5 separate regions of the Homo sapiens genome follow, and all the other regions are linked to region 5. The links are contacts of gene promoters, found by promoter capture Hi-C in blood cells and fetal thymus (Javierre and others, 2016). All regions are on one chromosome and are shown on one strand. The core of a region is centred on a gene start or on the middle of the fragment in contact, and the rest is flanking DNA. Distances in the headings are between cores, read along the strand shown.

Region 1 (5,802 bases), core at 2,470-4,969, 1.2 Mb after region 5:
GAGAAAGGTGGGCAGTTCCAGTGACCTTTTTGCCTGGCCAAGAATCAGGGTTAGGGTCCTCCTCAGGGATGAGAGGTGAGTCATTACCTAGTGAAACCAGAAGCCCACAGGTCTCCAGCATCACCTCTCGGTACAGGGTCCTCTGGGCCAGGTCCAGCTGTCTCCACTCCTCCCGGGTAAAGGTCACAGCCACATCCTTGAAGGTCACCAACATCTGGAAAGTCAAACAGAAGTAATGCTATTGGCCTTGTGTTGTCGCATAGGATCAGAACCTGTCACTCAGTCTCTAGTCAATGTGCAGAGAGATCCAGGTCTGAATCAACTAGGTCTCCTTTGGGCTGACTTCCGTGCAGGGCTCAAAGGGGAGGCAGATACTGCCTTTTGACAATGCAATTGTGCCTGAGAGAAAAGCCTTCTATGGGGAAGCTGTTGAAGATGACACAAACAATGGCAATCCCACGAGGACTATGGGAAGCAGAGAGTAAGTACTCTGGCATATTAAAAGAATGGAGGAAAATGACTGATACTAATCCAACCACAATAACAGCAACAGCAGCAGCTAAGTGTGGGGGAAAGAAAAATAGATCAGACCGTTACTGTGTCTATGTAGAAAAAGGAAGACATAAGAAACTCCATTTTGATCTGTACTAAGAAAAATTCTTCTGCCTTGAGATGCTGTTAATCTGTAACCCTAGCCCCAACCCTGTGCTCACAGAAACATGTGCTGTATTGACTCAAGGTTTAATGGAGTTAGGGCTGTGCAGGATGTGCCTTGGTAAACATGTGTTTGCAGGCAGTATGCTTGGTAAAAGTCATCGCCATTCTCCCGTCTCGGGTACCCAGGGACACAATGCACTGCGGAAGGCCACAGGGACCTCTGCCCGAGAAAGCCTGGGTATTGTCCAAGGTTTCCCCCCACTGAGACAGCCTGAGATGTGGCCTCGTGGGAAGGGAAAGACCTTACCTTCCCTCAGCCCGACACCCATAAAGGGTCTGTGCTGACGAGGATTCATGAAAGAGGAAGGCCTCTTTGCAGTTGAGATAAGAGGAAGGCATCTGTCTCCTGCTTGTCCCTGGGAATGGAATGTCTTGGTGTAAAACCCGAGCGTACATTCTATTTACTGAGATAGGAGAAAGCCGCCTTATGGCTGGAGGTAAGACATGCTGGCGGCAATACTGCTCTTTACTGCACTGAGATGTTTGGGTAAAGTCAAACATAAATCTGGCCTACGTGCACATCGAGGCACAGCACCTTTCCTTAAACTTATTTATGACACAGAGTCCTTTGCTCACATGTTTTCCTGCTGACCCTCTCCCCACTCATTACCCTATAGTCCTGCCACATCCCCCTCATGGAGATGGTAGAGATAGTGATCAATAAATACTGAGAGAACTCAGAGACTGGTGCTGGTGTGGGTCCTCCATATGCTGAGTGCCAGTCCCCTGGGCCCACTTTTCTTCCTCTATACTTTGTCTCTGTGTCTTATTTCTTTTCTCAGTCTCTCATCTCCACCTTGCAAGAAATACCCACAGGTGTAGAGGGGCAGGCACCCTTCACTAAGTCCTCTGGTCCTCACTGTGTCCCTGCCAGGCTAAGGCTTCCTTAGCCGTGGTAAAGCAAATAAAGGCCTGACTTAAATCAGGCCTCCTGAATCTGACACTTGCCAGCTATGTGACTATGACGATGTCACATGATCTCTCTAAGGCTCGATTTCCGAATCAACACAATAACTATTCCCATCTCAGCAGGCAGCTCTAAGAACTAAACAGAAAATGTTCACTTAGGCAATCAGTGGAGTGCCTAGCACATGTAAGTGCCTGATGTGTTTGGGAACTTTATTAATCCCCTGACAGGCCCAGAGGTAAATGTCGTTATCACTTCCATTTCACAGTCAGCAAAGGCTCAGGGAGCTTTAGAAATCAGGCACAGCCTCACATTTAAAAAGCAAAAGCAGCATTTGAGCACCGCTAAAACACCTCACCAAGCTGCCAGAGAGCAGGCAGGTGGGAGTGAGGGGTGCTTTTAGCTACAGCCAGCACTGCCAGGATGGGTGTGGAACTGCAGCCCCGCAGAGACCTGAGAACAATGTCTCAGACAAAGGGAAGTGCAAGGGCAAAGGCTGAAAATGGGAAAGAGCTTGGCAAGCTCAGGATTCCCTGGATGAATGCAGTGAGAAAGGGGACAATGGAAGAGGAGAAAGAAGATGCGGTCAAAAGGGCAAACCAAGTACAGCCTTGCAGACCATGCTGGTAGGAGGGGGTGGATTTATTGGAAATGTGATGAGAGTCCCTATAAGAGAGGCCTATTCAATCATCAACCATTTATTAAGTACAATAAATGTACTTAAGCCTGGCTGTTCTGGGTCTTGGGAGAGGGAAGCAACAGGCACTCACATTCCAGGGTTGGAAAAAGATCCTAAACAGGCAACTAAATAAATGAGTAAGGCAATGTCAGATGGCCTTAAAGATTCAGATGACAAGAAAACAGAGCAAGGAGACCAAAGAGACTCTGGTCAGCTTTAAACGGTGCAACAGACGAGACCTCTTTAAGCAGCGGACACCAGAGGGAGTCAGAAATAAAGCAAAGGAGGGAGAGGTGGATGAGAAATTAACAACTACGACAGGAGCTGACAGTAATCTGGGCTATCATGAAAGTAATCAGAGTGACTGCTAGAGAGTAACCCTGGGCCTCATGTGTTATCTCCAAAGGGACACTACATCCTGCATACCATCGCCACTGAACATTTTAATGGACTCGTTTTTCACCTGTAACTAAATGTCTTAAACAGGAAAATATACTGTTAGTTGCAACCCAGCGTCCCTTGCCCTAAACTGAAAGACAAATTCCTCAGCCTGCCCTACCACCTTTTCTGCCCTGGCATAGCAGCAACCGCAGAAACGCTCCTCCCACCTCTTTCAGCCGCTGCCCTTCGTGTTGTAGAGACAGGAGGCCAAGGAGGCCAGAGGGTCAGACTCCTGCTGGGGTTGAGTCTCCAAACCTAGCACAGGCCCAGGGAGCAGCTCCGGAAACAACATCCTGAGCGACGTCCCCGGACCGTGCTGTGCACTGAGACGGACACACACACATCACCCAGGGAGCCGTTCAAGCTTCCTCAACCCCGGGGGGGGGAAGAGTAAATATTTCTACTTTGCGCGCGCAAAAATGAAGGACGAGGACAGTAACGGGACTTGTTCAAGGTCGCAGGCCCGAGAAAGGACATGGTTGGAAGAGCCACGAGGAGGACTGCGGTCGCTCCTCTCACCTGTGAGGGGTTCCGGGACCCTAAAAGCCCTATTTCATACCACAACGCCGCGCACCCCAGAAACGGGGACGCTCCCCACGCCACCGCGGGCCTGCATTCCGGACCCGGGACCGCGCGACCCCCTTCTAGGCCTCTAAGAAGCAACGGCAGGGACTGCACTGAGGACGACCCTGAAACGCCGTCCTTCCGCTCGTCGGGCCCGGGACACTGAGGCCGGGTGGCCGCGGGGAGCCGAGCCAGTCTGCTCACCTGCGCTGCGTCCTTCGTCTCCGCCATCCGACCGTTGGCAGGACGAGGCCGCGTGGGGCAGCTCCCACGGGCTCAAAACCCTACCCCGGGTCCTACAACGGTGCGGAGGTGAGCCCCAGTCGCCCTACCATCCTTCCCAGCACAGTTCTGAGAGCGCGGACCAACACGCCCCACCACAAACGTCCACGCCAGCGAGGCCGGAAGTCCCGCCCCTGTGTCGCGGTCGCCTGCCACGCCTTTTCCTGCGCCGGCCCACTGCCTTCTAGGTAATGTAGTCTTGTCCCGTAAGAGGCCAGGCTTGGCTCTTTTTCCTTTTTTATTATGCACACCATGTTTCTGTATATCTCAGATGATCTTAGCGGAGCAAGTGTACACACTGGATTGTAAATTTTTAAAACTTCCTATTATTCGGATGCCTCAACGTCCCTACAAGCAGGCTGTGAGCACTCGCCCAGGCACCCAGGTAAACGAGTTTGATAAAGGGGGCCCTGCCACGAGGTTCCCCGCTTGCCTCCTCTGAGTGACCCAGTGACATTCCCATGTACCAGTAAAATCTTACGCCTGGTTACTGCGTCCTCCTCCACCCTGACGCCAGGCACTGTCCCTGGGACTGGCGTGGATCTGGACCCCCGCTTCCCGCGTGGAGCCATTCCCGGGACATGCTCGTGGGGTTCCGTCTGTGGGACGTCTGCCTCCTCTGTGTGGACTGGTGTTGCCCAGGGCTCAGGAAGGTCTCCAGGGGCCGTGAGTCCCCGCCCGCTTCCGGAGTCCAGCTTCGTGACACCATCGTGAGAAAGAATGCAGGGATGAGTCAAAATGAAGCCAAAGGCAAGAAGCTTTTATTGGGAAGAAAAAGTACACATTTTTGAGAAGAGTGTACTTTTCCCAAGAGAAGAGGGAAATGCGGACGTACGAGGGAGAGCGGGTCATGCACAATGGAGTTTGGGTTTCTAATTTTATGGGCTCTTCTAATTAGGGGGTGGGATAATCATGAGGTTTTTCTAGGAAAAGGTGGGAATTTCTTAGAATTGGGGTGCCAACCATTTTTATACTAAATGTGGGCGTGCTTGGATTGGCCTGGCACTGGTGGGTGTGTGATTTAATGTGGCAATGAGTGTATAATTAGGTCTGGGGTAGGAAATGGGTCAAATCTAGCGTCATGGGACAGCCTAGCCCCAATCCTGTTTGTTAAGGTCTCATCAGCCCAGTCTTCTTGTTGGAGTAGCTAATTTTAACAGCTTGATGTTTTCCCCCTTCTCCTGTGACCACACAGCATTCCTATTTTGTGGGTGTTTCTTTAATTAGAGAGTGGAATAATTATTAGGTATTCTGGAAAAGGAGGGAAATTCAGGGACCCACCTGGTTACTGCCCCCTTTCTCTCTTATTTGGCTTTGCCCAGAAGAGTCATGGACATGTCATCCTGACTGGGATTTTGGCCATTCTTTCTCTTATTTTGGGTTTTCTGTTATCCTATGGTTTCTTTGCCTAGTTCTTGTTTTTATTTGTTGTTCGAATTTTTCCATCCTCCTGCAACCACCCAGTGCTATTCCTATATCACTGTGAGTATAAACACCCTTTAACCTTATAGGCTTCTTGAAGTATAATTCCCAAGACCATGTTGCAGTGGTCCTTAAAGAACCAATAAGGCAGAGAGAAACAAACATGTTCCAAATTTTGTTCTCAGGAGTAAACCTTACTCAATTGTTAAAGGCTGTAGCTAGCTCAAAAGAAGTTTCCTTGACTCTGAAAAACAAAACAAGGATCAGCAATGTTCCAAGCAAAAGTCAAAAAGATTATTTCAGTTTTTCTATTAGTTCAGCCTATTCTGTTAACTCTTGTTCTGCTTGATATTTATAAACATTTTAGCTTTTCATGAGTCCTGTATGTTTTTCAGTTATCAGAAACCTGCATTTAGGAATACCTGTTAAAGTATTCCTACATCTGATTATGAACCATATTTTGAAGAGGATTAAAACAAGACAACAATTGTCTGTAAATGACAAAATGTCCAGGGTGGTTAGTCAAAAACATGATTGACAAAAAAAATTTGGTTATCTCCGTGGTTTACAATAACAACATAACAACCTTAATTGTGGTTGATAGTGTATACTTTCACATTAGAGTTTTCTAAATCCCATGCAGTTTTGGAACACATATTAATAGTATTTGCTGAAATATAACCTGAAGAAGATTAGACATCATTTTGGCAATCCCATGTAACAAAACATGTCAAATAATCCTGCTTGCCTCTTTTCTGGATGCCCCAGGGACCCTCTGTAGCATCCAAAA
Region 2 (5,801 bases), core at 567-3,066, 1.8 Mb after region 5:
CTCCTGGCCTGAAATTTTCTATAATAAAAACAAACAAGATCATTTATTATCTCATAATGAAAAGTCCCTGAGGTGAGCATAGGCAATGTTGATTCAGTGGCACAAAGAGGATTCATTCCATCATGGATACTGGTTCTTTCCATTTTTCTGCTGTGCCATTCTCAGCATGTTGCCTTTACCTCCTGGGGTGGCTTCCTCATGGTGCCAGTGTGCTTGTAATTGTCCTACACATCACATACAGACATCACGGTCCAGGGGCAAAAGAAGACACATTGCTATCTTATGTCCACTTTTAAGACTGAGGGAACCGGCCGGGAGCGGTGGCTCATGCCTGTAATGCCAGCACTTTGGGAGGCCGAGGCGGGTGGATCATGAGGTCAGGAGATCGAGACCATCCTGGCTAACAGGGAGAAACACCGTCTCTACTAAAAAAGAAAAATTACAAAAAATTAGCCGGGCGTGGTGGCGGGCGCCTGTAGTCCCAGCTACTCGGGAGGCTGAGGCAGGAGAAAGGCGTGAACCCGGAAGGCGGAGAGTGCCGTGGGCCTAGATCGTACCACTGCACTCCAGCCTGGTGGACAGAGCGAGACTCCGTCTCACAAAAAAAAAAAAAAAAAAAAAAAAAAAAAAAGACTGAGGGAACCTTCCCAGGAAACCCCTAGCAGCCTTATTTCTCCTTGGCCAGAATATCCTTGCCTAATTCACACAGCAAGAAGCTTGAGTCCATTCTGATTAGCTTAGAATCCATCAAGATCCTCCCTTAGGGAGTTAGATTCTAGATTTCCCGGAAGAATCTAAAAATTGCAGGGTCGTGCTAGCCAGGTATGAAAATAAGCAAGTAAAAAGATGATGACTGTTGGGTAAAGCTATCGACAAGGTCAGCTACAAAACAGTCAAGCCAAGGAAGGCTAGTCACAGATGCACCCCAGACACAAAAGCACAGTCCAGGAGCTGAGGGTGCCTGAGCCACAGTGGTTCCCGCCTACCTGGCCTTCGTAGGAAAGTTTCCTGTGGTCTCCCTCATTGAAGAGCCAGGACGGGTCAGGCGGTGGTGGGTCTCAGACATTGAGCCCCACAACGCACTGAGACTGAACATCAGACCATTTATAATAACAGAACTCTGTCCCACAACTTCTGCAGCAATAGGTACAAAACAGAACTTGGTCACTGCCAGCCTCCCTATTTTTTTCCCTGTCCCACTTAGGAGCTACCACAGAAAGCCAAATAGGCTCGACTGAGCGATCACCTAGGACGAATCGCCTCCAGTTAGCGTGCTTCCACCTTCCACTCGGAATGCTCCAAGCAGGGCACTCCCGGGGCTTTGTTTCTATCACTAGGACGCGTCCCCACGCCCAGGCTGTCCCTGAGTCCCTGCCACAGGCGCAGATGTTGGCGGGCGCCCTTGCCCCTGAGCTCCCGGTTAACGGCCTTGGACTGTTCTCATGGCTCAGTCTTGGTCTCTCTCCCCAGCAGGGCAAGGCGCCGGGAAGGCACCCGAGATGACAGCGCCGAGCCCCATAGGCGCTAGTCCCGCCCTGGACGCCGACCGCCGCCTCCACAGTCTCGGCTTCGGTTGCTGGATGAGAACCAGCGTGGCCCGTTTAAGGGGGAGGGGACAGGCGCTGCAAGGAGCAGAGCCGCGGGAAGCAACTCCCTAAGCCACAATGCTAGTCGCGAACACAGGAAAAAGCTCATCCCGCCGCCGCGGGGCCCCATGCTCCCGCCGGCAATGACTATGCCTGTGGGAGCAACGGCTACCGGCGCGCGGCCTTCTGGGAGTTGTTTGTTGCGCGGAGCGCGGGCACGTCCGCCGGCCACCGGAAGCACCGCCATTGGCCGGTGCGTGCAGGTGAGTCTGGCGGCCTCAAGGTTGGCTCGGAGGTTTCACTGTTAGCCGGGTGCGGCCGGAGCGCAGGACCAGGCCAGAGCCGCCCCAAGTGATCTGGGCGTGCCGGAGAAACGAGCAGGGCCTGCGGGGGTCCCTCATGCGGCGAGGCCGAGCAAGGGCAGGGGCCTGATGGGATCGGGATCTCTCCGGCCTCAGGGACGGGGAAGGCCGGTCCAGTCAGGTTTCCCCTGCAGGAGCGCCCGGCTGGGTCTGAGCTTGTCGGGAGGCTCTCCTGCTGCAGAGCTGGGAGGGAACTTATAGTACCTCGCAGGTACGGGCAGGGGTGGAACTGGGTGGGACTGGGTGGGACTGGGTGGGACTGGGTGGGACTGGGTGGGCCCTCCCGACAGAGGGTGCCTGGGTCGAGGGCTGCAGGGGCGGGGGATTCAGGCTGGCGTCTGGAGCTCTGGGGCTGCCGACCCAGCGGGCCTCTCCCGGCTCCTTTTTCCTCCCTCAACTCATCTTCTGCGGCTTATCCACAGGTGGCAGCCAAGAGCCTCCTGGCACAGCGGCACCAGGCAGGTGACGCCTATTGGACCCCAGAGGTCATCCCAGCTCCAGACGTGGACACATTTTCTTCCAATGGTACGTGAAGCTTGAACCTTGCAGAGAACATGTGTATTTTCCAAGTGAACAGAAGATTAAGGCCAGTCCACGCAGGGCAGGGGTAACTGGGGTGTTGGGGGCCTGCACTGGTTAAGCGATGCTGGTGCACCCCATAGAGAGACTACAGAGGTGAACAGGATGGGATGTGTATGTAACGCCTGTAAGTTAGGGATCGGGGTTCCATTTGTGTTGGGTGATATTTGATGGGGACCGTACAAGGCAGTGCTAATGAGGAAGGCATGGGGTTGGATTTCAAGAGTCTAAGGGAGTAGGGAAACATCTGATTGTGGAAATGACTCCGTGTAAGGAGGGATGCCAAAAGACAGGAAGGAGTGGAGGAAGACTGTGTTTCTGTTTCCAGCGTGGAGCCAGGGTAGAAGTCACAGTGCAAGGAAGATGTGGTATGCCTGGTCAGTCTCTGCATGGGAGTTGAGGAGCATGTGGGTGACATGGCTGAATGTGGAGGAGGGAATGGCAGTGGCAGGAAGCCCAGGAGGTTTGGGCTGGACACGTAACCTGGAGCAGATTGGAAACGTCACCCCACAAGCAGGGAAGGAGAAAACTGGAAAAGGAAAGAGAAAGCAACTCCCTCCCCAGCCCTGCAGCCAGAGGGACTTCTGCCAGATCAGCCACCATACAGGTCCAGTATGAGGAACAGATGGGGAATTTTATGTCCAAGTATAATCACTATGAATACATGTGTTGTGCCCCTTTTGCAGGTTAACACAATGTTAAGCTCTGTAAATGCAACTCAATTAATTCTTTTAGCATCCTCACAAGGCAGGTCTTGCTGTTTTTCCAGATGTCTACGGATGAGGAAACTGAGGCCTGGAGAGGTTAAAGAGACCCGTTCAGAGTCCTACAGTGGCAGGTAATGGAGCCAGTACTTTGACAGCAGGTTGCAAAGTGAGTGTTCTCAGCCGTTGCCCTTGGATGCCTCCAGACAAGGAAGGACAGGGTTAGAGAGCAAAGATGGACACAGGCAGTGAGAGATTCCCCAGGGAAGGCCAGGAGCATCAGGACAAGATAGTAACACATAAGATATTGGGCAGACCTCTTGGATGTGGTCTACATTTGTGTTTGTGTGTGTGTTTGGGAGTGAGAGAGCAGAGCAGGATGGGCAAGATGAGGAGGGGGAAACTGAGAGTGTTGGTCACTCTGTTCAGGCCTCACCTGAGAGGAGAAGAGGCAGGGGGTGGGGCACTGGGATATGGATTCATCTTGACCAGGGAGAAGACATCTCAGCTCAGAATTTGAAGGGAGCTACTAATGAGTGCAGGCCTGCAGGAGTTTGTGTGCCAGGAGGTTGAAAGAGTCCAGAGTCATCCCTTGGAGTGAATTAAAAGGCCGATTTGTCTGCACAGAGAGGACAGTGGTGGGAGGGGACTGAAGTAGGGTGTGAGAGCATGAGCTCGCAGCTGTAAGGGGATAGTGACTGAGTGGATACTGGTGTTCCTGAACTCCTATACCACCCAGAACTCAGAAACTAGCAGGGTTGGGCAGAGAGGGCAGTCAAGGGCATAGGCAGATTGCACAGAACAAACAGATCAGAGAGGCCAAGAGGTGGGCCTCAGGCCAAGGATGTTAAGAAAAAGAACAGGGGCATTGGGCTGGGCTGGGGTGGGGTGTACCAGACGGGGAGGCTGGGAGCCTGAGTGGTAGTGTGCTTAGGGCCATGAGCTATGGAGCTCCCACCTTCTCACTCCCCAGCCACGAGGCCTCAGTTAAATTTTACTCAAGTTCTTTCTGCCTTGGTTTCCTCATTTAGAAAGCAGGGTAAATTCTGTTAATTGTCTTTGTGGGGTTACAAGGAAGATCAAATGCATGAATTCAGGCAGAGGACAGGGTACAGTGCCTGGCCTGTAGGAAGTACAGCCTGAGTGGTCAGTGGATTTTGAAAGGTAGGAAGGCCTGGGGCATTTGCTAGGGAAGGAAGCTGAGATCATAGGCCCCGGTGTGTTTTAATTCATGTCTTTATTATTTATTTTTTTATAAATGGGGTCTCACATGTTGCCCAGGCTTGTCTCGAACTTCTAGCCTCAAGAGAGCCTCCTGCCTTGGCCTCACAAAGTGCTGGGATTATATGTCTTTAATACAGAGCAGCTTTGTACATTTTTCAGCCATGTAGTTTATTTTATTGTGAACTATCTGTTTGTGACTGTCACCTCTCTTTTTCGTAGGTCTCTATTTTCATTAAAGAAGCTTAAATATTTTGTCAAGTTCAAAAAATAGTCCTGGTGTGTTTTTTGTTTTGTTTTGTTTTTTTCTTGAGACAAGGTCTTGCTCTGTCACCTAGGCTGGAATGGTGGCATGACCTCGGCTCACTGCAGTCTCCGCCTCCTGGGTTCAAGCGATTCTTGTGCCTCAGCCTCCCAAGTTACTGGGATTACAGATGTGTGCCGCCACGCCCAGCTAATTTTTTTTTTTTTTAGTATAGACAGGGTTTCTCCATGTTGTCCAGGCTGGTCTTGAACTTGAAAACTAATACAAAATATAATATGTAATGCCAGAAATAAGACTAGTTCTCACAGTAAATGTGATGGGTAGAACTCTGTTTTAGTAGACACTTTGAAATTGAACTGAAAATAAAAAGTTAAAGATACGCTCTACTTAGAAGAGTCAGATGATCCAGGCTTTGACAAACAGGTGGTGGGATGAGCATAGATCCATCAGTGAAAACAAATAAGGAAATGGGTGGCAAGATAATATCAGATAAAGTAGACCTTTAGTGCAACAGCATTAAGACAATTTTATCTTTTTTTTTTTTTTTTTTTTTTTGAGACAGGGTCTCACTCTGTCACCCAGACTGGAGTGCAGTGATGCCATCACAGCTCACTGCAGCCTTGACCTCCCGGCTCAAGTGATCCTCCCACCTCAGCCTTCTCAGTAGCTGGGACTACAAGTGTACACCACTACACCCAGCTAACTTTTTGATTTTTTTGTAGAGACTTGGTCTCACTTAGTTGTCCAAGCTAGTCTCCAACTTCTAGGCTCAAGCAGTCTTCCTGCTTTGACCTCTGTATTAGTCTGTTCTCATGCTAATAAAGACATATCCGGGCCGGGCGCGGTGGCTCACGCCTGTAATCCCAGCACTTTGGGAGGCCGAGGCGGCCGGATCACAAGGTCAGGAGATTGAGACCATCCTGGCTAACATGGGGAAACCCCGTCTCTACTAAAAAAAAAAAAAAAAAAAAAAATACAAAAAATTAGCTGGGCGTGATGGCGGGAGCCTGTAGTCCCAGCTACTCTGGAGGCTGAGGCAGGAGAATGGCATGAACCTGGGAGGCGGAGCTTGCAGTGAGCCGAG
Region 3 (5,678 bases), core at 1,324-3,823, 1.1 Mb after region 5:
ATTCTCCTGCCTCAGTCTCCTGAGTAGCTGGGATTACAGGCACCTGCCACCATGTCTGGCTAATTTTTGTATTTTTAATAGAGATGGGGTTTCACCATGTTGGCCAGGCTGGTCTTGAACTCCTGACTTCAAGTGATCTGCCCACCTCAGCCTCTCAAAGTGCTGGGGTTACCGGCGTGACCCACGGTGCCCAGCCACTTTTAGTTATTTTTATTTTTATTTTGAGTCTCCCTCCGTCACCCAAGCTGGTAAGTAATTCTCGTGCTTCACCCTCTGGAGTAGCTGGGACTACAGGTGTGTGCCACATGGTTGGCTAATTTTTGTATTTGAGACAGGGTTTTTGCCATGTTGGCCAGGCTGGTCTCGAACTCCTGGCCTCAAGTCATCTTGAGTGGATCACTTGAGGCATTTGGGAGTGCCTCAGCCTCCCAAAACGGTGGGATTACAGGCGTGAGCCACTGTGCCCGGCCTGCACATGTCTTTCTTACATGTGGACTCTCCAGGGGATTTATGCTGTTCAAGAAGCACCTGAATCAAACTGTGCTTTAAAAATATTTTTAAAACATTCCATGATTCTTCATAGTACAAAAATGAGAAATCTCCCCTAAATCTCTAAAGAATTCCCTTTTTAAACTTTTTGATTTCCTGAACTTGTCTGAAGGACTTAACACAGTTATATAGAGTGTTCTTTGTGTAACAGTATCCATGACTTTCATTTTTAGCTCTGGTATTAGATCTTCCTGGACAAGAGCATTACTGGCCATGTGTATGTTGCTATCACAAATAACTAGTAGTTAATATTTCCTAAATCTTAGCAAGAGTTATGATAAATAGCTGAATTCCATGAAGAGAAAAGACTCATGGCATGACAACCAGATTAGGAAAGAGTGTTTTCCTTGTCCTGCAGGCAAAACAGAACTGAGAGATATGAGTATCACTCATGATGAGGACAAAAGGGCTGCGTGCTGGGAAACATGAGGCGACCAACACAGAGTTGGTCACTATCCACTGGCCTGGGTTTGCAACTACAGTTGTCCAAATTGTCAGAAAACTATGGACTGAATAGAAAACAAAAAAGGAGCTCACCAGGACCATGATGGTGTGTGTGGCTCTGGCTTCCTGGGAAGGTCTGCAGGAGAGTCTGTTGCTGTGATTGTGTTGGACTTGCTGCTTGTGTCTGTAGAGGAAGAAGACCATGGAGCCACTGGCCCAGACCATGAAGCCCAAACTCATAAAATCAGGGGAAAAATATAAGACTGCATGTAATGAGCTAAATCTCTTTGATGCTTTGTAAGAACAGTATCCATAATTGTTTTTTGCACTACTGTTTTTGCTATTCAGTGGGCCATTCACTAATAGAAGAACAGATGCATTCATCAAGACATGGGGGGCCCAGCAGAGGAGACAACAGAAGTCAATAAACCTTGGGGATCTAATCTTGATCTCCATCCACCTGCATATACTGGGGTTGAGCTTAATGGCTTGGAATCCATTGAGAAGGCAGATGGTGCTGAGGGAAACTCTTGTGCCCACCCTGTGATAATAAAAGACAAACTTACATCCAGTGTCATTCAGCAAATATTTCAATCCAAAAGCTGCCATTGTCTGAGGTATCCCTTTAAAGAAAAGGACCATGGAGTTAGCCAAGGCCAGTTGGCTGAGAATCAAGTCCGTGGGTCTCAGCTTGTGTCCAGTGAACAAAATTAAGTTATAAAAACAAAGGAGAAAGGAATTTCCCAGGATCCCAACTCCAGTCTGAATGAGGAAGCTAATCCCTGATTTTACTTTTCCAAAAGCCATTTCATCAAAATCTAGGGGATGTTGATTTTCATTGAGGTCTGAAGAATCAGTAGAATAAAAAAGCAGAAAGAAGTATCTTGTCATCAGTGGAGACAGAAGTTTTAATGTGTCTCCAACCATATTTTCTCATCTTAAACAGAAATTAAGATTGTCCCTGTTCGTGCAAAGGCAATTGCTTGTGTGTCCAACTGCAGAGAAGCAGGTGAATGAATGAGGGCTCAACCGCACAACAGATCCACAAATCAAACCTATAAAACTCAGGGCTTACACACATGCAACAAGTAAATACAAGCAAAACTAGGGAAATATATAAAAACAGAACACAGAAGAGTCAATATCATTAGAGTGATATTATACTATAGTTTGCAAAATGTAATCATGACGGAACCCTGGGTAATATGGACAGGGCTTTTTCTGTATTATTTCTTATGACTGCTTGTGAGTCTACACTTATTTCAATAAAACCTTCAATTAAGTAGCCTGGAGATATGAAAAGCAAAAATAATACACCATAAAACCTTTTCCACACTAATATTTTAGTAAACACCATTGTTATTGATGCATTGAAACAAATTTTAGGCCGGGTGCAGTGGCTCACACCTGTAATTCCAGCACTTCGGGAGGCCAAGATGGAGACCATCCTGGCCAACATGGTGAAACCCTGTCTCTACTAATAATACAAAATACTAATAATACAAAAATTAGCCGGGCATGGCGGCGCGTGCTAGTCCCAGCTACTCGGGAGGCTGAGGCAGGAGAATCGCTTGAACCTGGGAGGCAGAGGTTGCAGTGAGCTGAAATCAAACCATTGCCCTCCAGCCTGGGCGACAGAGCGAGACTCTGTCTCAAAAAAAAAAAAAAAAGAAATTAAAAAAACGCTACAATACAATTGGTAACAAGGCCTTCAGCACAGTACAAATGCTAACTTGAAGAATTTTTAAAAACTATAATTTTTGGAACAATCAACATTGCATCATGGTATATTTTATTTTAAGCACATATATTTCTGTTATTTTCCACCGGACAGGTCTAGAGATTGTGAATTGACTCCGTAGAAATAACCATGACCACCTTGAGCCCACACATTTTTATCTCAATGCCATTTCTCACAAGTAAATGCAAAAGATCCTGAAAATAAATACTAATCCCAGAAACACCTAAGATATCCTTAAAACTTGTTAAATAGGAAATTCAATATGTTCCAGAAAGCTTGGGTTTATTTTTAGGGAAAGATAATTCAATTGGGAGGGAATTTCATTGCACAATATTCATATATATCAATCACAAAAGAAATAGTAACTGCGGCCAGGCACGGTGGCTCACGCTTGTAATCTCAGCACTTTGGGAGGCTGAGGCGGGTGGATTACAAGGTCAGGAGATGGAGACCATCCTGGCCAACATGGTGAAACCCCGTCTCTACTAAAAATACAAAAATTAGCTGGGTGTTGTGGTGCGTGCCTGTAGTCCCAGCTACTCGGGAGGCTGAAGCCTCCTGGGTTCACGCCATTCTCCTGCCTCAGCCTCCTGAGTAGCTGGGACTACAGGCGCCCACCACCACGCCCGGCTAGTGTGTGTGTGTGTGTGTGTGTGTGTGTGTGTGTGTTTAGTAGAGACGGGGTTGCACCGTGTTAGCCAGGATGGTCTCGATCTCCTGACCTCGTGATCCGCCCGCCTCGGCCTCCCAAAGTGCTGGGATTACAGGGATGAGCCACCTCGCCCGGCCATAATTTAGATTCTTTTGGTGTCTCTATGGAATTGCTATCATCAGGGAAAATTATGAGGTATTTTCTCCCATGAATAACTACATCTCTTTAGGGGTGGAGCAATCAATAACACAGCAGTATCAAGATTCTCAGGCGAGAGGTGGCTCACGCCTGTAATCCCAGCAGTTTGGGAGGCCGAGGCTGGTGGATCAGCTGAGGTCGGGAGTTCGAGACCAGCCTGACCAACAGGGAGAAACCCCGTCTCTACTAAAAATACAAAAATTAGTCAGAGGTGGTGGCGCATGCCTGTAATCCCAGCTACTCGGGAGGCTGAGGCAGGAGAATCGTTTGAACCCCAGAGGCGGAGGTTGCAGTGAGCCGAGATCATGCCATTGCACTCCAGCCTGAGCAACAAGAGTGAAACTCGGTCTCAAAAAAAAAAAAAAAAAACTCAGGCTCTGAGGTATGAAAACCTTTTAGATTCCCACAAACCACTTGTTGACAAATGTTTTTCCTATTTATATGAACTCATCATTTATTTTCAAGATAGTTCCTGATTCTTTGCTTTAATCTCTTATTTTGCTCCATTGTCCTAGTTGTATAATTTATTTCCAATATGCATTTGGTTTCCTATTTTTTCAGCTTCTCCTTATAAAGTACCATTTTTACTATGACTATTTTGAAAGCTTCTTGTATGTATAAAGTTAGTGTGATTATTGACTTTAACATACCACCTCCTTCTCCTCCTAGCCTCAGAAAGAAGTGTTGGTAACTGGTGAGAATTTTCAGACAGATTTTCCTTTTTTTTTTTAATTTAATTTAATTTTTTTTTCTTTCTTTGCTTTCTTTTTTTTTTTTTTTTGAGACAGAGTCTCACTCTGTTGCCCAGGCTAGAGTGCAGTGGCGCTATCTCGGCTCACTGCAAACTCCACCTCCCACGTTCAAGCGATTCACCTGCCTCAGCCTCCTGAGTATCTGGGATTACAGGCGCCTGCCACTGCGCCTGGCTAAATTTTTTTTGTATTTTTAGTAGAGATGGGGTTTCACCATGTTGGCCCGGCTGGTCTCGAATTCCTGACCTCGTGATCCACCCACCTTGGCCTCCCAAAGTGCTGGGATTACAGGCGTGAGCCACCGCGCCAATTTAATTTAATTTTTTAAAGTTCCAGGATACAGGTGCCGGATGTGTAGGTTTGTTACATAGGTAAACGTGTGCCATGGTGGTTTGCTGCACCTATCAACCCGTCACCTAGGTATTAAGCTCAGCATGCGTTAGCTATTTATCCTGATGTGCTCCATCCCCCGACCCCTTTGACATATTCCAGTGTGTGTTGTTCCCCTCCCTGTCTCCATGTGTTCTCATCGCTCAACTCTCACTTATAAGTGAGAACATTTGGTGTTTGGTTTTCTGTTTCTGTGTTAGTTTTCTGAGGATAATGGCTTCCAGCTCCATCCATATCCCTGCAAAGGACGTGATCTCATTCTTTTTATGGCTGCATAGTATTCCATGGTGTATATGTACCACATTTTCTTTATCACTGATGGGCATTTGGGTTGATTCCATTTCTTTGCTATTGTGAATAGTGCTGCAATGAACATATACATGCATGTATCCTTATAACAGAATGATAATAATAGAATGATTTATATTCCTTTGGATATATACACAGTAATGGGATTGCTGGGTCAAATGGTATTTCTGGTTTTAGGTCTTTGAGGAATTGCTACACTGTCTTCCACAATGGTTGAACTAATTTACCTTCCCACCAACAGTGGAAAAGCATTCCTATTTCTCCACCACCTTGCCAGCATCTGTTGTTTCTTGACGTTTTAATAACAGCCCACTGAACAGCAAAAACCTTAGTGTGAAAAACAATTATGGAGTCTGCTCCTGGGCAATGCAAGAAATATTTGGCACCTTATATACAATTATATACTTTTCTCCTGACTTTTTGAGTTTTGGCTTCTTGGTGTGGGTCAGTGGCTCCATAGTCTTTGTCCTATACAGACACAAGCAGCAAGTCCAACACATTTGTAGCAAGAGACTCTCCTCAAATCAGTATAAGTAAAATTAGGAAAATATTAAGATGATAGTGAGGGCCGGGTGTGGTGGCTCATGCCTGTAATCTCAGCACTTTGGGAGGCCGATGCAGGCGGATCACGAGGTCAGGAGAT
Region 4 (5,201 bases), core at 2,083-4,582, 1.2 Mb after region 5:
ATTAAGGAAGCATATGTATTAATCATGGTTTCTGTTTTTTGTATTATATGTCTTGACATCTTAAAATTCTTGCTGGTGACAGAGAGACTTACCCTACCAGAGGTAGCTAATTTCTAAAAATAGTAAACAACTACCTTGAGAGCAAGGCAAGCCAACTACCCTCTTTATCTAACTCTTACTCACCAAGCCAATACTTTCCCTGCACTAAATCATCCCAGCGTTACTGCCAGTGATTTTGCAGCAGTCTGCAGCAATTTTGGTCCTTGCCTCCTCAGAAGAAAATTCAACCGAGGAGGCAGAGGTTGGCTTAAGGCACAGGAAGAGACCAAGGCAAGTTTTTTTTAGCAGGAGTGAGAGTTTATTAAAATGTTTTAGAGTAGGAGTGAAAGGAATCAAAGTACACTTGGAAAAGGGCCAAGTGGATAACTTGAGAGGTCAAGTGCCCCACTTGATCCTTGGCTTGGGACTTTATACATTTGCTTATTTCCCAGGCTCTTTATTCTCCTTCCTTCGGTAGGCTGTTGCTTGACTACTGCATGCACAGTGGTCTGCCAGTACTTGGGAGGGGCCGCATGCAGTTTGTTTACTGAAGTCATACATATACTCATTTGGGGTGATCTTCCCTTAACAAGTCATGCACCCCCAGAGGAAGGTCAAATACCAGTCAAATTTTGCCATCTTGCCCCATTTTGTGCATGCTCGAAACCTTATCAGGGGTTGTGGTTCACTGGCTCCAGGTGTTTTCTATCTGTTGGAAAACTCTTTTCCCTCCTGGTACCAATCATGGCCACTTATCATCTCAGAGGGATAGTTTTATGCTTTCCTGTCCTTCACCCAATGAGAGCTGGACATCTCGGGGGTCCCTCTCTTGTTTTGTTTATTATCTCAGAGGAAAAGATTTATGATTGCCTGTCCTTGACTCCAAAATTGCCTGACATTCCTGGGGTCCCTCTCTCCTGCCCTACTCTTATCTACCTACTCTAACACCAGGGTGAGGGTATGAGGCAACTAGAGACCACCCCTGTAAATCGAAGCCAACCAGAATTATTCAGACTAGCCAGTACTCAGCTGTTTGCTCTGATCTGGCCTAGGCTTTCCCCTAGCTCTTGCTTCTTCCTTTAGACTGAAACCTGTTCCTCCTGTGGCCCTGCATGGCATACTGTACTTCCCATTTCTAGGGAAATTCTGAGTAACATTAAACTTTTATTTCACTGGCATTGAGCTCTCCATGTCCTTTTCCAATAAAGACCCATCCACAAATTGGCCTCTCTTGGCTATGTAATATTACATATCTTTCCAGCACTTCTCAATGCCTTCACCTTCTCTTTTCTCCATTATGCCTGCCACATTCTAACATTCCATATAATTTAGCATTTTTTTCATATTTCCTCCTCTTTCTTGAGTACAGCGTAAGCTATTGGGGTCTGTCTCTTGTTTTGTAAATGTCCCATGCAGTTAAGATAGTGTCTGAAATACAGTAGGTGTTCCTTGAATATTTCTTAGAACTATGAATAAGCATAATACTACAGCATCCCTGTTCACCTTAATATTCTGATAGCACTTTCTAAATGTTTTCTTTACTTCTCCTTCCAGGTATTATTGAGTGTTTTCAAGAATGAAAAGAGGCCTGGCATGGTGGCTCACATCTGTAATCCCAACTTTTTGGGAGGCTGAGGTGGGAGGATCCCTTGAGCCCAAGAGTTTGAGGCTGCAGCAAGCTATGATCGTGCCACTACACTCCAGCCTGTGCAACACAGTGAGATCCTGTCTCCAAAATTAAATAAATAAATAAAATTACATTTTGGAGACTAAACGCTGCTTGTAGTCATAGTTCTAACACAGCTGTGTGCTCAGCTTCATTTGCTCACTTCTCAGAATTCAATGTCTCCTGCTCAAATTTTGCTGTCATCTTAACCGTTTTCACTTATCACAGATATGTTTCTCCAGGTCCATTTCGTCATGTATCTGTGAATAACTACAGAATTATTAACTTTGAGTAATTTGGCCGGGCGCGGGGGCTCTCCTGTAATCCCAGCACTTTGGGAGGCTGAGGCGGGCAGATCACGAGGTCAGGAGATCGAGACCATCCTGGCTAACACGGTGAAACCCCATCTCTACTAAAAATACAAAAAGTTAGCCGGGCATGGTGGCAGGCGCCTGTAATCCCAGCTACTCCGGAGGCTGAGGCAGGAGAATAGTGTGAACCTGGGAGGCGGAGCCTGCAGTGAGCTATGGTCGCACCACTGCACTCCAGCCTGGGCGACTGAGCAAGACTCCGTCTCAAAAAAAAAAAACACAAAACAACTTTTGAGTAATTTAAACAATTCACAAATGTTTTTGTCTTTCTTTCCCCATACACTCGCCCTTTTCTTTTTTAAAACCATAAATAAATCTCAATTCTCAATTCAGACACTGTCGGTGTAATTGCAGGTGAAATGAGAATCACCTCCCAGCCAAGAAATCTGATCCCAATTTTCCAAATCTTTATTTCTGGGTTCAGACACCACATTTTCAGCCCCTGTCTTGGCATATAAAAGCATTTATAATGGTTCTTCTTTTCAGATAAGAAACATCACCAAAAGGAAATAGATATATCTCAACTTTTGGGCTAGGAACTCTCATTTGGATAAAAGAATATTTCTCCTTTGGTTGGACATTAGTGACCATACAGGCAGGAAAGGTGCCTTCCTTGACCACCTTCTCTCGCCTGTCTTCCTCCTCATGGTTCTCTCAGGTATTTTTTTTCTGAGGAAACCAGAGGAAGAGCTCTATATTAGTCCACTTGCCTCAGGGAGCTCCAGCATCCCTCCATAGCCACTGTCTGGAGACCATTCTTCCACTCCATGGCCCTGCCTGGGGACAATTCTCTGTTAACTCTGACCCAACTGAGGCTCACAAAACTGACTCAAAGCTTCCCTCTACAGTACACATATTTTTTAAATGAAGGAAATTTGACTGAACTATGAGTGGACTCAGAGTGACATTGGATGTTGTGTGTCCATTTGGTGGTGTGGCTTCAGGGAACATCTGTAAGAATATATCCCAATATTTCGGGGATCCCTGCAGACCTCACTACACAAGACCTGGTTGAGGGTCCTTTAAAAGGAGCGAAGCCACGCCCTGACCTCAGAGTCTCAGGGCATAATTTCTCAGCGCCCCTCGCAGTACCATTTGGCCTTTGCCCAGCGTGCAGGGGAGTTAGCCGTCACCACGGCCAAGTGCACATGAGAACTGCATTGCCCAGAAACCTGTGCGCCGCCCGGCGGCGGCACTCTTAGGGGCGTCTCCCTGCGGACGGAAGCTCTCTGGGCGGGACTTCCGGTATCTTCCTCGCGGTGGACATCTTGTCGGCTCTTAGGTGGAACCATCGGAGCAGAAGCTCGGGGTTGCTGGGCGGTTCCGAGGTGACGGAAGCGGGAGGGTGCGGGAGAAGTCGCTGTTCGCTCTGCGGAGTGGCTCGCCAGCGAAGACCCCGCCTGCGCCCCCGGGGACGGACGACCGCGGTGCCAGGGTCCCGCGACCTGGGACCCCCTCGCGGCTCCGGGTGGTCTACGAACTGTGATGGCGGCGGCCGCGGTGATGGGCCCGGCGCAGGTGGGTGCTGCCTTTCCCAGACTTTCGCCCGCCCCAAATCCTGAAGTTCCAAATGAGGAGCGCCTGTCTGAGTCCCTGCAGCGCAGGCCCCAGTGTCCAAGGCAGCGGGGCGCTGGTGGGTGGGGGCGAGTGTGACTGGCAGAGGGGCAGCCTGAGCATAGGTTTGGAGCTGGACTGAGCCCGTAGCAGTCGGGAGCGTGTGTGAACCGTAGTCAGGCCTGCAATGTCGAGGGGAGAAGTTGCTCCTTCATTGCGAGGACGATAGGAGCCATGGCGGGTTTTGAATGGTGGAGGGAAGGGATCCGAAAAAGGATTTTTAAAGTATTCCAATGTTTGCTGAGGAGGAAACCGACTACAGTGAGGTAGAAACGATGAGGATGGAGGCAAGGAGACGTTTGAGGAGGTCCCTGCAACAAACTCCAGAAGTGTTGCGGTGGTGGCTGGGCCAGAGCAGTGGCAGGAGGGGTTGGGTGGGGAAGTCATGAGATTCTGGGTAGATTTTTAAAGATGGAACCAATGGGGTTTCCTGCCGCATCAGATGTGGTCGTGAGTGAATGTAGGGAGGAAAGGGCTATCCAGGGTTTTTTTGGCCTGTTTTCCTTCCTGAACGTGTGAAAGAATGGAAATTGGTAAGTCACAGCAGGGAGCACGTTTCAGGGGCATCAGGAATTGGGTTTTGGACTTGGTGAATCTAAGGTGTTCTGCACTGGAGGTTCATCACGGGTAGCTGAACATGCAGGTCTGGGGTTCTAGAGAGGGAGTTGTGCTAGAGACTTCAATGGGTGAGGCATAAGGTCAAAGCCTGTAGTAGATCAGATTTAGAGGGTGGAATTTCAAGGAAGTTATTTTGTGTGGTCTCTGAAGTGAGAGGTGGGTTTAGGGTGGAAGGCCAGGGATGAAGGGGTGGACACTTAAGATTCCTTCCAGAAAGGAGGGGTCCTGGCATGTGAAAGCATTCTAGATGGTGTTGTTGGAAGTCAATGCTTGGTGCTGCAAAGTGAAACCAGCACTCAGGCAAAAGTTTTCTCAGCAAGGCAATTTACTTCTGTGCAAGTGTGCTGCCTGTGTTAATCACGATCCCAAGAGCACACTGAACAAAGGAGGGAAGGGGTTTTTATCTCTAACCCATAGTCCCTACCTTCCTCTGTGTCACTCCCCCATGGGCTGGGGTCGGACCGCTTAATCTAAGCTGAGCCAATTGGGTATTTGTGAGTATTTTCCAAATAAGGAAGAGGGAAGGGGAAGGTGAGTTACAGTGGTGGGACATGTGAGTTGTGTAGGACGTGTGGTTTTGGCGGGGGCAATGGGTGCAAAGTGAGTAAGGGAACAGATGTGAATTATTGGTTAGTGCTTACAGGAAGGTTGTTTATAGTAACTAGGGGCAAGGAGGCATGGAGAACAAGAAAGGTTTGAGAACAAAGAACAAGGAAGTTAACAGGCTAAACCTTTGAAGAGGAATTTTATTATATCTTATAGTGTCAGCAAGAGGAGAGGGCTGTAGAGCATAAGTAGCCTGGCCTGCACTGGAGACCAAGGTGAGGGATGCAGTAGGTTTGCCACCCTACAGGCTCAGCATGCCTTCATGGGCGCTGCCTGTGGAGCAGTCC
Region 5 (5,461 bases), core at 2,692-5,191:
ATGAAATAATCTGTAAACAAACCCCCATGACACAAGTTTACCTATTTAACAAACCTGCACTTATACTCCTGAAGTTAAAAAAAATTTTAAATATTAAAATTAAAATTAATAAAAAAAGAAAAATGGTCAAAAGATACAGACATCTTTCCAAAGACAAAATACTTTCCTTAGGAACCACCATATTTGTACTCAGTCTAGCCCTATAATCCAGGTTGAATTTTTAAAGTGTTTCAGGAGGAAGGAGCAGCCACCTTTGTCAAATGCTGCTGACGAGCTGAGGAAAACAACACGTAAGACATAAGCTTTGAAGGTAGCAACCTGCAGGGAAGATCTTCTAAGACAAAGGGCCACTTCCAGCGGACCTGATACCTGCAGTGGCTGCTCCCTTCCCAATGATACCTCACTCACCTGGACACAGGCCTCCAGACACCACTCTCTCCACCATCCAGGGCTCTTTGCCTTGCTCTAGGAAGGAGATCACATCAGGTTTGGAAACGGCAAGACCTGGAGATGAGAAGAAACATGCCACCTGGTTATGGTGTGGGGGCCCCAGAATTCAGATCCAGGACCTGGTCATCAAGCAGGAGAGGCAGTTGCAGGAAGTGCCAGAGGAAGATGGGACAGTTGCCTGGGGGTAGGGGGATGCAGCTTCAGCCGACAGCGCCGCCCTTTAACCCCTCAAAAATGACCAACCAATCATAAGACTGAAAAGCACCCAAAAACTGACCAGGAAGGAACATGCCCAAGGATAACCTCCAAACTAACAGACGAGATCACCTTACCCAGTGAGACCAGGTTGCTGTAGGTCTCCAACATCACGTCTCTGTACAAATCCCTCTGAGCAGGTGCCAACCACTGCCATTCTTCTTGGGAGAAGACTATGGCCACATCCCTGAACAATTCTGACCCCTGGAATGACAGGCATGTATGATATATATGTATTTCAATGGTTCACAGTGGGATGAAAGGAGATGGGGCAGGTCTTTGCGGGAGGGGGGGTTGTTTTGTTGAACAAGAAGGGTGGGACTGAATGTGAAAGGTGACAGAAGAAATGGGGATGAGTAAAACAGAATGATCAAATTGTTCTCAAACATTCCTTTTAACTGCAAATCAATGCTCTGTGTACAGGTCTGGGATGAAAATTAAAATCAAGCTAAATGGAGTTTTCCTTATTGTTAAGAAACAGTGTAATAAAGCACACTGCCCACTCTATACTTGGCATACAATAAATTCTCAAGGTGAGACCTATCACTTCTATCTTTTGGAATAACAATAACAACAAAAAATATTTCTGATGGATTTTCCCCAAATATTTTATTTTTTAAAATTATGGAAACATGTTTTCTATCTTAGATACAGGATTTTCATGTAAGTCAAGAATTTCTTGGAGATGAAAGTTCATCATTATGTTGGAACATAACACAAGCATTTTTCTTCATGGGAAAAACCATGGAGATAACTTTTATTGAGTGCACAATTTTCTATCAAGTGAAACAACTGACTCAAACATCCTCTTATTTTGGATCCCGAGGTTGGATCAGATCTCTAAGGCTTTTCCAAGCCCTGACCACTCACCCACCTAGATGATCATCTCACTTGCTACATCGCTCACCATCCTCAGCTCTGTACTTTTCTTCCTCTTAAGCTAAAGAAACTAATGGAGGATGTCCCAGATTCAAATGCTCTGTCCAACGTCAAACTAGACTTTAATTCTGGCATCAAATTTTTGATGGATTCCCAGCCAAACCTCAATTACATATCCAATCATTAATCATTCCCAAAGCAGGACACTGTACCATGCGCTGAAACTGAAACCAACCAACACCACCTCCCCTGCTTTTCTATATGTGATTGCTCCTAAGCATTCATTCCATCTCTTCAAACTTCAGTTCTTACAAAGGATGCTCTCATTTCATACAGGGAAATGAGTTTCTCCTCCTAGCAGACGAAAACCATCAGGAGATGCAGAATGCTATAGAGAATAAATCTGTGGGCATTTGTCAGAGGGGAGAGGACAATGGGAGAGGAGACTCCTGCCTGGTCCTTTTATTCCCTAAAATGGGAAAGTCTGAGAACCAAATTTCTGGATGGAACCCAGGTGGAAAGTTTCAAGATAAGGAAAGCAAATATTTATGGGATTTAAAAACTCACAAGGGACATGACTTTTAGAATTTCAAGGGCTGATAGGTCCTCCTTCTGGTTCCTCTCTTGGGGAAGGGCAGAGTCCTGCGACGGTAGAGCTGGGGGAGGAAAGAGCAAACATGAGAGGCTAGGCTTGCCTCACAGTTCCTAGAATGCCAAGTTACAAGTCCCCACCTGCTTGCCCTCTGCCCACCAAGAAAATGAGAAGGAGGGGGAGGCAAAGGGATCCTCACCCAACCCCAGGAAACCAGCTTTAGCTGCTGCAAGGCAAAGGGGAACCAGTGGTCCTTTCCCTCCCATTTCCCCTAAACATCCAGTGGTTCTGTTTTGCTGCAAATGCAAGTCTAAGACAGGGATGCTGAGGGCTGTTCTAGTGACTGAGACCCACATGTTACCTCAAGGACAAGGAGGGCTTCCCTCAAGCCAGGGAGCATAGAAGGCCTGCATCATTTGCATAGCCCCAGCCTAGAATAAAGCCTTTCCAGGACTAGGCCATTTAACTCTCTCCTGCAGCAAATATAACACCTTTGAAAGTCTACCTGGCTCTTTTCCCAACCGCCAAATATACAAAAAGCTCTACAGCCCAAACTGAGGCTTTGTGCATGCCACTTCATGGAGCATGCCTTGCATCAACAAATGGGATAGAGTTGGAAGGAACAGTAAGAGACAAATTACACACAGCACGCCCAGTGCTCCATTATCAGCACATAAATGTGTCCTTCCATAGAGACACAGCAGTGCACAAAGCTGCATGTCCAATAATATTTGCTAAATAGGAGAACTGAAAATTAGTACGTAAGTAGGCAAGTCCACAAGTAGCCAAGAGGTTGAATCATTTTTGGCACAGCCATATAATGGGATGCCAAGTGACTATCAAAAATGACTATCAAAAACTGACAAGCAAAGATATTAACTACTGAATCCTTTGAGAACATTCAGCAAAAAGAAGTCAAACTCACTAACACACAGGCTAAAAACAAAACAAAACAAAAAAATTGGAAGAAAAAACACCCAAGTATTCGCAGTGTTGTCATTTAACCAGTTCTTGAGCTCACTGTTAAACAAGAAGTACTCTGTAAAGGAGTATATAAGGTGCCTACTGCATTACAAACATTTGGTTCTAAGTAACGTGTAAGTGAAATAATTATGAATGTTGCTTAATATGATGTAATAGGCAGCTTTTCCTTATTATGACCACTTTTATAAGCATTATTTGTATTAACTGCACGATATCCTATTTACAAAGGATGGCCTGTGATCCACTCAAGTGTTTCCCCATTGCTGGACATAGAATTTGAACATATAAAATGTTCCCAAGTATAAGTTTTTCTAAACTAGCGGTTCTAAGTCTTCTGGGGTCTTGTAACTCTCTGAGAACCTCATGAAACAAGATTTCCTCTCAGATTAAAAAAAAAAAAAGGCACGCATAACAGTGAATGCAAAACATCCGCAATTTCAGGGGGTCGGAGACCCCTGCGCACCCACCTAAGGGGTCCATGCACCTGGGCTATGAGGCTGGAAGCAGAAAGGGGGCGCCAGAAAGCGCACGCCGCGAGGGCCGGCGGGAAATGTAGTCTCACGCCGGTAAAGCCACAGAGCGACGATGAGGCGAGACGTCTGCGTTCTTCTCAGGCCTGAGACCCAACCGGCCCGGGCACCAGCTCCTGCTGGACCCCAGAGCGCCTGGAAAGCTCCGGAACCTCTCACCTGCCGCCTCCTCGGGTCCAAGTGCCACCGCGGCCGCGCCCCCGGCAGCCCAGGGCGCGCTTCCACCACGGTACCGGTGGATTCGCCGTGCGCAGCCGGAAGATGGCGCAGACGCACAAAGCACACCGATGCTGCGCCATGATAGGGCCGGCGCCGCAGTGTCTTCCGGGAAACATAGTCTTTAGGCGTAAAGGCAGCAGCCCGGCCTTGAAGCCGGATCTCGCGATGTTTCAGGGTGAGCCGGACGCAGGCGTGCCTGCGCAGTGCGCGGAGGAGTGCTGTTCGTGTGTTCGAGTCCCTGGGTTGCTTCCTGGGGTCTGTGGTGCTGGGTGTGCTATCTGCGTGTGATTCTCTAGCGAGAGATTGTGGGCGAGTGACCGAGTGGGCAAGGGGCCGTCACTGTGTGTGCGTGATTTTGACAGTGTGTGGTGGTAGCTTCTGACTCCGCGTGGGTCGTTGAATGTATGACTGGGACCGTTTAGCGGTGGATACACAACTGTGTGCGGCTGTGGAAGATTGCCTCATCCGTTACGTTCCCATTTCCGTGGAACAACAGTTTTACCAGAAGGTTTCGAAGGAACCTTAAAGTTTGGAAGCGTAAGAGTTTATCTGGTAACTAATTTTAAACATTACATCTATGGTGAGTTAAATGTGGGTTATGAAGGAGAACGCAAAATAAAAACGTTATAAAGATGTAAAGGAGTTTTATGGGGCGGCATCTCTTGGGCAAATATCAGACCGCCGTAGGTAGTTGTTAATTCTCTCTTGTTTTTAGGCGGCTTTGGTGTCATCAAATGTGAGAAGCCCTGGACTTTACACATCCCGAGCCAGTGTGATCCAGTATGATTGGGAGTCCGAGTGCCAGATGCCGGTCAGGACCTGTTATGCTGGGTCTCAGAATGCGGAAACTCTCCCTGTCCGAGGTGGAACAGTTTGTCCTTGAGTGAGGACTGGAGTCCTGAGTGACTCTTTTGATTTGATCCTGTTTCCCTCAAACCTGGTGAGCTCTATGGTGTAATAAATGGTTAAGAGTGTGAACCCTTAACCATCTCTAAGACTGGAGCCAGAATGCCTGAACTCCAGTCTTAGAGATGTGCCTCGGTCTCCACATTTGAAAGTGAGGATGATTGTGGCATCTAATTCATTGAGTTGTTGGGGAGGAGTAACTGATATGTAAAATAATGCTACTGCTGCTGGATAAGGATGCTAATATGACTGAAGCTAATGCTTTCTTTCTGCAAAGATGCTTTTTCCAAAACACACCATATTGCCTCTTTACACATTCTTCAGGAGAGGGTAGAGGCTGCATTTTCCTTGTAGGTGCGGTGATGTGGTGGAAAGCACACTTTTAGAATTAGACAGATGTGGATTCAAATAGCATTTCAGCCATTTATTAGTTTCTTCGTGCCTATCTCGGTTTTGTTTTGTTTTTTTTTTTTTGTCCATAAAAGGAAGAATGTAATGCTGGGCTTGCAGCTTTGTCCTGAGGGTCAAATAAAATGATTTAATAATATAAGCAAAGCTCAGAGGTTGGTTATTGCTGATTACTGATATTAAAAGACAACTTCAGCAAGGATGGTTGAATTTCACACTTGTGAGCGGACAGTTGAGG

What was found. The method cuts DNA at HindIII sites, captures the fragments that hold promoters and counts their contacts. A CHiCAGO score of 5 or more calls a contact.
Region 1: the fragment with the promoter of ZNF550 here is called in contact with the fragment with the promoter of ZNF582 in region 5 in 6 of 17 cell types (non-activated CD4 T cells, M0 macrophages, neutrophils and 3 more); the score reaches 15.2 in non-activated CD4 T cells.
Region 2: the fragment with the promoter of ZNF544 here is called in contact with the fragment with the promoter of ZNF582 in region 5 in 1 of 17 cell types (total CD4 T cells); the score reaches 5.1 in total CD4 T cells.
Region 3: the fragment with the promoter of VN1R1 here is called in contact with the fragment with the promoter of ZNF582 in region 5 in 7 of 17 cell types (neutrophils, naive CD8 T cells, monocytes and 4 more); the score reaches 12.6 in neutrophils.
Region 4: the fragment with the promoter of ZNF134 here is called in contact with the fragment with the promoter of ZNF582 in region 5 in 9 of 17 cell types (neutrophils, total CD8 T cells, naive CD4 T cells and 6 more); the score reaches 12.3 in neutrophils.

The regions. Positions count from the first base shown.
Region 1 is chr19:57,556,144-57,561,945 of GRCh38, forward strand. ZNF550 (zinc finger protein 550) reads right to left here and starts at 3,720. Exons shown (of 4, transcript NM_001397372.1): 1 at 3,513-3,720; 2 at 88-214. The coding sequence starts at 3,539. It overlaps LOC124904781 (a long non-coding RNA gene), which reads left to right and starts at 3,799. Exons shown (of 2, transcript XR_007067357.1): 1 at 3,799-3,975. RefSeq lists enhancers at 2,762-2,841, 2,986-3,850, 3,292-3,341, 3,828-5,027, 3,972-4,081. The HindIII fragment of the contact is 1,240 bases long and covers 3,107-4,346 here.
Region 2 is chr19:58,227,098-58,232,898 of GRCh38, forward strand. It overlaps ZNF544 (zinc finger protein 544), which reads left to right and starts at 1,817. Exons shown (of 7, transcript NM_014480.4): 1 at 1,817-1,849; 2 at 2,371-2,473; 3 at 3,297-3,365. RefSeq lists an enhancer at 1,693-2,519. The HindIII fragment of the contact is 1,767 bases long and covers 715-2,481 here.
Region 3 is chr19:57,454,567-57,460,244 of GRCh38, forward strand. It overlaps VN1R1 (vomeronasal 1 receptor 1), which reads right to left and starts at 2,574. Exons shown (of 1, transcript NM_020633.4): 1 at 224-2,574. The coding sequence starts at 1,920. The coding sequence ends at 859. It also overlaps the pseudogene VN1R107P. The HindIII fragment of the contact is 5,648 bases long and covers 1-3,007 here.
Region 4 is chr19:57,610,910-57,616,110 of GRCh38, forward strand. It overlaps ZNF134 (zinc finger protein 134), which reads left to right and starts at 3,333. Exons shown (of 3, transcript NM_003435.5): 1 at 3,333-3,594. It also overlaps a transcript of ZNF530 not described here. RefSeq lists an enhancer at 3,228-3,407 and a silencer at 3,538-3,587. The HindIII fragment of the contact is 2,580 bases long and covers 2,910-5,201 here.
Region 5 is chr19:56,389,593-56,395,053 of GRCh38, forward strand. ZNF582 (zinc finger protein 582) reads right to left here and starts at 3,942. Exons shown (of 5, transcript NM_001320371.4): 1 at 3,628-3,942; 2 at 2,152-2,240; 3 at 783-909; 4 at 409-504. The coding sequence starts at 2,160. It overlaps ZNF582-DT (ZNF582 divergent transcript), which reads left to right and starts at 4,084. Exons shown (of 2, transcript NR_037160.1): 1 at 4,084-4,461. The HindIII fragment of the contact is 9,401 bases long and covers 301-5,461 here.